Regions from separate parts of the Homo sapiens genome. Here region 1 is linked to region 2. The links are contacts of gene promoters, found by promoter capture Hi-C in human tissues and cell types (Jung and others, 2019). All regions are on one chromosome and are shown on one strand. The core of a region is centred on a gene start or on the middle of the fragment in contact, and the rest is flanking DNA. Distances in the headings are between cores, read along the strand shown. Region 1 overlaps ESPL1 (extra spindle pole bodies like 1, separase). Region 2 holds the start of RARG (retinoic acid receptor gamma).

Evidence for each region. Contacts are between HindIII fragments. The study calls those that stand out against the background at their distance.
Region 1: a fragment that was not itself captured here is called in contact with the fragment with the promoter of RARG in region 2 in 3 of the 25 tissues and cell types used here (mesenchymal stem cells, neural progenitor cells and ovary).

The regions. Positions count from the first base shown.
Region 1 is chr12:53,271,241-53,276,375 of GRCh38, forward strand. It overlaps ESPL1 (extra spindle pole bodies like 1, separase), which reads left to right. Exons shown (of 31, transcript NM_012291.5): 6 at 1,481-1,617; 7 at 3,577-3,770. Among named protein-coding and RNA genes, the nearest start is that of ESPL1, 5.5 kb to the left of the region's middle. RefSeq lists an enhancer at 5,004-5,135. The HindIII fragment of the contact is 8,629 bases long and covers 1-5,135 here.
Region 2 is chr12:53,230,770-53,235,888 of GRCh38, forward strand. It overlaps RARG (retinoic acid receptor gamma), which reads right to left and starts at 1,440. Exons shown (of 10, transcript NM_000966.6): 1 at 1,205-1,440; 2 at 400-466. RefSeq lists silencers at 1,126-1,255, 1,576-1,625. The HindIII fragment of the contact is 27,501 bases long and covers 1-5,119 here.

The DNA.
Region 1 (5,135 bases), core at 1,309-3,808, 42 kb after region 2:
ACGGCTCAACACAGTCTCAACCTCCCAGGCTCAAGCGATCCTCCCACCTCAGCCCCGCAACGAGCTCACCTTGCAGGTTCAAGCGACTCTCCTGCCTCAGCCTCCCAAGTAGCTGGGACTGCAGGCGCGCACCACTATGCCTGGCTAATTTTTGTATTTTTTGTAGAGATGATGTCTGGCCATATTGTCCAGGCTGGTCTTGAACTCCTGGACTCGAGTGATCTGCCCACCTTGGCTTCCCTGAAACCCTGTCTCTACTAAAAATAGAAAACTAGCCAGGCAAGGTGGTGCATGCCTGTAATCCCAGCTACTTGGTAGGCTGAGGCAGGAGAGTCGCTTGAACCTGCAAGGTGGAGGTTGCAGTGAGCCAAGATTGCACCACTGCACTCCAGCCTGGGCAAGAGGGCACTCCAGCCTGGGCAACAAGAGCGAAACTCCATCTCAAAAAAAAAGGAGAATTCTTCCCACAGAGTACTGAAGACTGACTTTATTTTCTCCCAGTCATCTATGTTGATGGCCAAGAAGCTGCATAAATAAGTTATTATCATTTATTCAGCAAATATTTGTTGCCGGGCGCAGTGGCTCACGCCTGTAATCCCAGCACTTTGGGAGGCCGAGGCGGGCGGATAACGAGGTCAGGAGATCGAGACCATCCTGGCTAACAGTGAAACCCCGTCTCTACTAAAAATACAAAAAATTAGCCGGGCGTGGTGGCAGGCGCCTGTACTCCCAGCTACTCAGGAGGCTGAGGCAGGAGAATGGTGTGAACCCGGGAGGTGGAGCTTGCAGTGAGCCAAGATCGTGCCACTGCTCTCCAGTCTGAGCGACAGAGCAAGACTCTGTCTCAAAAAAAAAAAAAAAAAATTTGTTGAGTACTCACTGTGTGCAACGCACTATTTGGAGTACTTGGATGTGTCGGTAAGCAAAACAAAGTTTCCTTCCCTCATGGAGCCACGTTCTAGTTTGGGGGGAAAAGATAAACAGATTCAGTAAATAAGTGAATTATCAACATATTAGAACGTGATAAGAAATGTGGGGGAAAGGAAAAGTAGAGCAGGATAAGAAAGGGAATTGGGAGTCTAAGGTGCATGACGGGGGGCAAGTTACCACCTTAAATCAGGTGGTCAGGGTAGACCTCATTGAGAGGGTGACATGAGCAAAGGCTTGGAGGATGTGAGGGAGTCAGCCATGTGGGTTCCTGGAAAAGAACATCCCTGGCAGAAGAAACAGCCAGTGCTGAGGCAGGAGGGGGTCTCGTTTGTAAAATGAGTGCAGATGGGCTGAGTGGTGTGAAGGGCATGGGCCTATTTGGGGCAGGAAGGGGAGAGCCGCCCCTTCCCCATTCCTAGCAGTAGGGGTTCCTGTCTGATCTGGAAGCTGCTGAACTGACCACAGATCCAGCTGATCTCTGCTGCCTCTCCAGGAGGAGAGGGTGGTGGGAGCCTTTCCTATGGTCAATTGTGCCTTTTCTCCCCTGCAGCTTCTTACACCAGTAATTTGGCCTACAGCTTCTATAGTCACAAGCTCTATGCCGAGGCCTGTGCCATCTCTGAGCCGCTCTGTCAGCACCTGGGTTTGGTGAAGCCAGGCACTTATCCCGAGGTGCCTCCTGAGAAGGTACAAGGGAATGAGAGATGCAGGAAAGGAGCTTATGTGGTTGGGGAGCGGGGGGAGCGGGGAAGGGCCTCACCAGCACCCTGCCTTGGAGTGGGAGGTTAATAGCAGCATGTTGACACCAGTATCTGGAGCAGTGTTTCCCAAACCTCACTGTACTGTTACTTACTGTTGACTCATTTTTTTTTTTTTTTTTTTTTGAGACGAGTCTCGCTCTGTCGCCCAGGCTGGAGTGCAGTGGCACAATCTTGGCTCACTGCAACCTTTGCCTCAGCAAAGGTTCAAGCAATTCTCCTGCCTCAGCCTCCCAAGTAGCTGGGATTACAGGTGCCCACCACCACGCCCAGCTAATTTTTGTATTTTTTGTAGAGACGGGGTTTCACCATTTTGGTTGGCCAGGCTGGTCTCAAACTCCAGACCTCAGGTGATCCGCCTGCCTCAGCCTCCCAAAGTGCTGGGATTACAGGTGTGAGCCACCGCAGCCGGCCTGACTCACTTTTTATATTTAGCCTGGTCCTAAGCTACTGGTTTCCAGCCAAGCTGCACATTAGAATCACCTGAGTGACCTTTAAGAAAATTCTAATGTCTGCCCCGAGTTAATTGCATCAGAATCTCTAGTGTTTGCCGGGCGTGATGGCTCACGCCTATAATTCCAGCACTTTGGGAGGCTGAGGCAGGTGGATCACCTGAGGTCTGGAGTTTGAGACCAGCCTGTCCAACATGGTGAAACCCCGTCTCTACTGAAAATACAAACATTAGCCAGGCGTGGTGGCATGTGCCTGTAATCCCAGCTACTTTGGAGGCTGAGGCAGGAGAATTGCCTGAACCCAGGAGGTGGAGTTTGCAGTGAGCCGAGATTGTGCTACTGTACTCCAGCCTGGGCTACAGAGCAAGACTCCATCTCACATCTGAATATTTTCAAAGATCCCCCAGGTGGTCCTTTGAGCAAGGAGAGTGAGAACCTGGGTTCTTGGTTTTTTGGTTTTTTTTTTTTTTTTTTTTTTTTTTTTTTGGAGACTGAGTCTTGCTCTTGCTTTGTCACCCAGGCTGGAGTGCAGTGGCACGATCTCGGCTCACTGCAACCTCCACCTCCTGGGTTCAAGCAATTCTCTGCCTCAGCCTCCTGAGTAGCTGGGATTATAGGCATGCGCCACCATGCCTGGCTAATTTTTGTATTTTTAGTAGAGACGGGGGTTTCATCATCTTGGCCGGGCTGGTCTTGAACTCCTGACCTCATGATCCACCCGCCTCGGCCTCCCAAAGTGCTGGGATTACCGGCGCAAGCCACCGCGCTGGGCAAGAACCAGTGTTCTTAAGCAAGAATACCTGTGAACTGATGCATTGGCGGGATTGGCAAGCAAGATGAGTCATAGAGGGGCTTGGGTTTCATCTTAACTGAGATGATAAGCCTCTAAAGGATTTAAGTGGAGGCATGACAGCAGACAGGCATTTTGGATTTCCCTGACTTCGCTGTGATGAATGGAGTGCAGGAGAAAAGACCGGGTAATCAGGCTGCTATAGTATTCTAGGCAGGGAAGGGTGGGCTGAACTGAAGCAGCTGCACGAGGGATGGAATGCAGTGGATCGGTGCGAGAAGCCAAGGATTAACCTGGTAGGTGACTGGCGGGAGGGAGAGCGAGAGAAGGGAACATCAGAGATGGCCCCACATTTCTTACTCAGGAGAAGGCAGTGCCATTTGCTGAGAAGGATTACAGGAGAAGCAGGTTTTCAAGGGTGTGGATGATGAACATAGGGGTGGAGTGGATTGCAGCCTCTGAGTTGAAGGCACTCAGAGTATTTCATTCTTAGGTGTCTCCTGCCTTGGGTGGGTGTGGCTCAGGAGGCCCACCTGCCAACCCCGCCCCCTCATGTGGTGTATGTACCTATTGCATGCATATCCCCTTCCACCATACACACTCACTGGTTCCTCTCCAGTTTGGTCTGTTCCCTTTCTCTGGTCAGTTGCACAGGTGCTTCCGGCTACAAGTAGAGAGTTTGAAGAAACTGGGTAAACAGGCCCAGGGCTGCAAGATGGTGATTTTGTGGCTGGCAGCCCTGCAACCCTGTAGCCCTGAACACATGGCTGAGCCAGTCACTTTCTGGGTTCGGGTCAAGATGGATGCGGCCAGGGCTGGAGACAAGGAGCTACAGCTAAAGTGAGTTGAGGGCCAGACGCAGTGGCTCATGCTTGTAATCCCAGCACTTTGGGAAGCCGAGGCGGGTGGATCACTTGAGGTCAGGAGTTTGAGACCATGGCCAACATGGTGAAACCCCGTCTCTACTACAAATACAAAAATTAGCTGGGCATTGGCCGTGCACAGTGGCTCACACATGTAATCCCAGCACACATGTAATCCCAGCACTTTGGGAGGCCGAGGCGGGCAGATCATGAGGTCAGGAGATCGAGACCATCCTGGCTAATACGGTGAAACCCCATCTCTACTAAAAATACAAAAATTAGCTGGGCGTGGTGGCGGGTGCCTGTAGTCCCAGCTACTCGGGAGGCTGAGGCAGGAGAATGGCGTGAACCCGGGAGGCGGAGGTTGCAGTGAGCCGAGATCGTGCCACTGCACTCCAGCCTGGGTGACAGAGGGAGACTCCATCTCAAAAAAAAAGTGAGTTGGGGAGGGGGTCAACCATGTTTCTCCCATGGATAGGGTGGCTTTTGGTACTCATGGTCATGTCCTTTCATCTTTATGTCTGAAAAATACTAATTCCTTCATTCATTAGTTATTCATTGAGTGCCCACTGTATGCTAGCCACTGTGCTACTTGGGGGGTATAGTGGTGACAGTGGTCTTGCTTTCATGGAGCTTATATTCTACTTGGGGAGATATTTTTAAAAAGTACATTTTGCATTTTGTGTCTGTTCCTTTTTTTTTTTTTTTTTTTAATAGAGACAAGGTCTCACTATGTTGCCTAGGCTGGTCTTGAACTCCTGAGCTCAAGTGATCCTTCCACCTTGGCCTCCCAAAGTGCTAGGATTACAGGCATGAGCCAGTGCGCCCAGCCTTCACGTATGCTCTATGAAGACAATTAAACTGATTTGCTAAAAGAGGGAGCAACTTGAGGTGGGTTATTTAGGAAAACCCTTTTTGAAGAAGTGATAGATGAGACCTGAGGATGTGAAGGAATCTACTTTGTAAAGATCTCAGGGAGCCTGGGCAACAAAGCGAGACCTTGACTCTACTTAAAAAATATTAGCCGAATGTGGTGGCATGAACCTATAGTCTATTTACACTTGGTTAGGAGGCTGAAGTGGGAGGATCACATGAGCCTGGAAGATCAAGGCTGTAGTGAACCGTGATCACGCTATTGCACTCCAGCCTGGGCAACAGAGTGAGACTGTCTAAAAAAAAACAAACAAAAAACTCAGGGAAGAGAATTCCTTGCAGAGAGAGTAGTAAATACAAAGGTTGCAAAGTGGGAACAAACTTGGGACCATGCTTGAGAAAGCCGGCATGCTGGGGGTAGTAGAATAGCGGTATAGGATGGGGAACCATATGGAATGAAGGTGGTCAA
Region 2 (5,119 bases), core at 190-2,689:
GGTGGGGGTGTGCCGGGGTGTGGGGGGGCGTGCCCCATGCTGCCTACTAGGCTGTAGGCCACAGTGCGTGTGTGTGTGTGTGTGTGTGTGTGTGTGTGTGTGTGTGTGTGTGTATGTCTGTCTATATGGGATACCCAAGCTCCAGGCTCCCTGCACACACTACCCCCACTCCCCTGTCTTCTCTCTACTTGCCTCAAGGATATGAGATGCTGGCTATGGTCCTTGACCCCAACTCAGCATCTGACCCTAAGGGCAGAAGCCTCAGACTTGAGGATTGGGATTCCAGCTGCCCAGGACCAGAGCCCTAAAGCGGGACAGTCATCTCAGTTTCTTGCCCTGAAGACCTCCTACTCAGGCTCCCCTGCCCCCACCACCACTAACAACCAAGCATCTTCTTACCCGCTGGCCGCCTGCAGAGACTGGCTTCTACATACTGGGTCAGGTTGAGGGAACTGGGCCGTAGCTGCTAAAGACAGAGAGGCAGCGTCAGTGGAACTCTGGGACCAGCACTCCTGGGTCCCTGTCCCGGTCTTCCTGCTCTTTCTTTGTTCCATTTGGGCTTCCCTCAAGAATACTCCAGAGGTGCCCCCCACCTTGGCTGGAGGGAGCCAAGGCTCGCACCTGGGCTGGGAACGTGTGGGAGGGAATCCAGCGCTTCAAGGAAAGTTCACAGATCCCTATCCTATGCACCAGTCCTTCGGAACTCCTGGACGCGGAGGGCCAGGCTCACTTGCCTCTGGACGTTTTCCTTGCCTTCTGATGTCCAAGCTGTCCCATTCCACTGGGGAGGGAGGAACTTGGACCAGCATGGAACATCAAATCTACCCCTCAGAGCCCGGGGGTAAGGGGGTGGTAGTCTTTCCCCGCGAGAGGAAACCCTGTCTTCTCTCACATTCCCAGCACAAAAATATAAGGAGGAATGCCCCCTGGCTGAAGACTTCCCCAAATGCTGTCCTCTGCTATGCACCAAAATGAAGGGCAGATGACCCAGCCCATCCTCAGCCTGTTAAAATCTTCCCCATTCCCTTCCCACAGCAGGACTGGCCTGGGTCGGGGCAAGAAGCCCCCCTCAAGCCCGGCGGCCAGCCTGGCCAGCCTCGGGAGGGCATTCGCCCGTGCAGCTCCTCCGCGCCCCCTCCCCCAGCCGCCTCGCCGGAGGACCCAGGCGACGGGGCGGGCGAGCCTGCTTCCCCGCCTGACTCACCTGGAGTGGGAGGGGGAAGGGAGGCGGCGGAGCCCCGAGGTCCCGGCGTCGGGCAGTCTCTTGGATGGAGCGTCGCAATGTCCGGGGCTCGCCGTACTGGGGGGCTCCTGGGGGGGCACGGCTCTAGGCTGGGACTGTCCCGGGGCCTCTCGGAGCCCGCCCGCCCACGTGACCGCCCCAAAATATCCGACACATTTTCTCCCAAACCGCACACTGACTCTGCAGGCGGGGACACGGAAAATATTTTCTTTCTTTTTCTCCCTCCCCACCCCCCCCCCAACCTCCCTCCCTGCCCAACTCCCTCCTCCCCCTCCCGCCCTCGCTCCTCCCTCCCCTGCCTGCCCCTGCCCGGCTCCCTCCTCTGTGCCCTGGGGCTGGGGGGCGGAGGGATGGGTGGGCGGGAGGGGGACTGGGCGGGGCGGCCCGGGACGCCTGGGTCTCTGCCCTTCCCATTTGCTAGGCTTCCGTGACTCCATCCTCTGGGAGGCCGGGCACGGCTGGCAGAGGAGGTCAGTGTCCTGGCCCCGTGATGCCAACCTTTTCTCTCTGGCACTTTTCTCCTTTCTGCCTTTTGGGGGGACTAGTTGAGTTGTCTGTGGCCAGGCTGTGACTCTTGCGAGGCCAGTCTCTGGCGCCTCCCCAGGGTAGGCAATGGGGCGGTACCCACTCCCTCCCAGTGCTGGATTGGCCGGGCAGGAGTATGCCAGATCTAGAATAGATGCTCCTGCCCTTACTCTTTGCTCAGCCTTCACCTGCAGATCCAAGTAGCCTCTCCCTTCCCCTAGCCCACCTCAGTCCTTTGGTCCCAGGAGCAAACTGGTTGACTAGTGGCTGTTGCTGGGGGTGCTGAGGCCAGGGCTCACAGACATCTTCCCTGTCATCTTGCCTGGAGTAAGCTCCAGGAGTTAGGGCGCCTGGGTCCCTGGCTGCCAGTTGTCCCCCACCTTTAGGCCTGGATTTGGAAGGGGAGAGGCTGGAGAGGAGGGCAGGAGGAACTGTGGCTGGGAGTGGGAGGAGCCTTGGGCTGGGTGTGAGAGAGAAAGCCCAGGCAGAGGGTGTGTGTCTGCCCTAGCCAGCACCGGCCTGCCTGCCTGCCTGCCTGGTAGATGTGCCATGAATGCTGTTGACTCCGGGTGTGTGTGTGTGTGCGTGTGTGTGTGTGTGTGTCTGTGCAAGCGCGTGCGCATGCCAGTGCCGAGAGTGAGTGTCTGTGTCTGATGGGGGCATTATCTGCTTCAACATAGACAGACTCTCAACCCTAGAGTGAGAGAACCCAGTGGTTTCACTCTGCATTCTACTGAGGACAGAGGGAGAGAAAAGAATGGGTCTGCAGTCCAAGCTCTGTGCACGGATCCCAAACACTCCCATGGGGACTGGAGTTGGGAGGGAGAAAGAGGAGAAGGGGAGAGTCTGAGCTAGGCTGATAGGCTGGACAGACATACCCAAAGTACCTTCCCCAGCAATGCTCGCAGGGTGACCAGGACCTGGGACACAGACTCCTGGGTCACGTCACATTTTCCATACTGGAATTACTTGGCTTTGTCCTTGCTCCCCCCTGGGGGCCAGGTGTCCTCCCTCCTGGGAAAGGCTGCTTTTGGTAGCCAAAGTCAGGTGAAGGAGATGGGGGAAAGAAGAGGCATGCTGTGGTTACCTCAGGGAATGGGAGATGGCAATGGGGGTGCAGACAAGCCCTCTCTTTCACTCCAGGGATAGGAAGAGCTAGGAATAGATACTCCAGGGTCCCGTCCCCAGGTGGCCTAGCTGCTGTTGACTTTGCTTGGTTACCCTGGGAGCAGCTCTCAGCAGTGTGGGAGGGGCGGGTGTCAGGGAGTTGGACCCAGGCGTCCAGGCTGGGGTGGGATGGCGCCCCGCCTGTGTGGCAGGGCTCCTGCCAAGAGGCTGCAAAGTTAACCCCTCCTGCCCTGCCCTAGTGGTGGCTGGTGGGAGGAGGGCGGGCCCAGTTGTGGTTTGGGAATGTGGCCCTAATTTCCCCCTCCCCCTTCCAGCACATCTGTACTTGGTTTACAGTGAATGAGCCTCCTGTCCTCATGAACCAGGCAAGGGCACCACTCCCTCCTTGGCCAGGCATTCTGACACAGAACCAGGCACCACCCGTGACACTCTCCTCTCCCTGCTGAGTATCATCTCTCTGAACTCTTCCCTTCTCCTTCTGTAGAGGGGCTTAGGGTTGGTCCCAAAGATCTACAGCTGGAGCTCTGAGACAGTGCATCTAGGTAGCAAATGGGGCCAGGGAAGCCTAAATCGGGGGACAAAACACTTGGGGTAGCCTCTGAAAACAGAGGGAGTCAGAATTCCAACTGTCTCTGCCCTCCCTTTGTCTTGGTTTGTCTGTCTGTCTGCCCGGGTCTTTGTCTCTGGTGGGCGTTTGTCTATCCATCCGTCTTGGTAACTGTAGCTCCTCCCTTCTGGCGGCCTCCTCGTCCCCAGCCGACGACAGCAGCCAAGCAGCGATGCCCAGGAAGACCCGCCCTATGCCGGCCCCTCCCCTTGGGATTGCCACTGCTTCCACCCCCGCCCCCTCTACCGCCCCTCCCCAGGACCCAGTGACTGGGGTCTGTTCACTGCAGCAGTTTGGAAGTCAAACCAAACAGCAGCAGCAGATTGGGGGACAGGGAAGAGGGGCATTGTGAGGGCTTCAGATTCTTCTCCCCACCCTCCACTCCCCAGCTTGCAACAGAGCCAGCTTTCTGTCCAGAGATTCCAGGAGGAGGCTTGGGAAGAGGGCTTCCCACTCTGGAAACTGGTGGAGGGGGCTCCCCTCATTCCTCTTTCCCTTGGGTCATCCCTATTTCTAGGCTTTGCTCTGTTTGTGGCTGCTCTACTTTGTCACCCTGGCAACTTGGAGAAATGATATCTTGGGGGCCCTAGTACCAGGCTTTGTTTGCTCCCCTCATCCCAGAGCAAAGACCAAAAGGAGAGATTATGAGGAGAGGAAAAGGATGCAGATATCTGTCCCACCTGTCCTGAAAGTCATGGGGAAATGACTTATTCAGTGCCCTGATGCTGGGGGGGCGGACAGTGGTGAGGATGAAAATTGCCCCACCCTAATTTTCACCCTCACCCCCTCCCAACCCTCCGGCATCAGGACACTGAATAGGTCATTTCCCCATGCCCAAATCTGGTGGTGTGGGGGATGTCCTATGCCATGCTCAGAGGTGTCTGGCAGATGACTATAGGGGGTGGTGGGGGAGCTGTGTTGCAGCCCCCAAAGACATCATTAAGGCATGGAAGTGCTGTCAGGGCTTGGGGACCAGGGCACCCAGGGAGAGCGTGATGAAAACATGTTTTGTACAACACGTGTCCTCTCTTTTCCCTTCCTCCTCTCCTCTCCCACCTCCTCCCCCTAGGCAAGCTCTGTGCCAGTGCTGGTGCCAGCCCTGCCTCTGGTGCTTGCTCCACTCCATCCCTTGTACTAGGCCTATTCTGCTGCTTGCCAGCTCGTTGACTCTCCTGGTGAGGGAGTTTGTGTGTAGAAGGTCCTTACCAGCCCCAGTGCTGCCCAGATCCCCACATAGAATAAGGACTTAATTTTGAAGCTCAGGATTTTAGGATTAGCCTAAACACCTCTGGGAATTTCTTCCCTGAACAGGCACCATGCATTAATTCAACAAATCTTTATTAGGCATCCACTATGTGATAAGCACTGTGCTAGGTTCTGGGAATACCCAGGTATGGTCCCTGGCAAGTTCACAGTCGGATGGAGTCAGTTGTTAACCAAATAATCCACAAAACTGCAACTAGAATAATCAGTGTGGAGAGGCATGAGGGACCATGAGAATGGAGCAGAGGAGTATTCTCCGCCAAGGAGATCAGGAAAGTCTTCGGAGAAAAAATGAGGGAGATTAGAGAGAAGGAAGGGCAGTGAAATATATGTGCTGCTCAAGAGTATGTGCA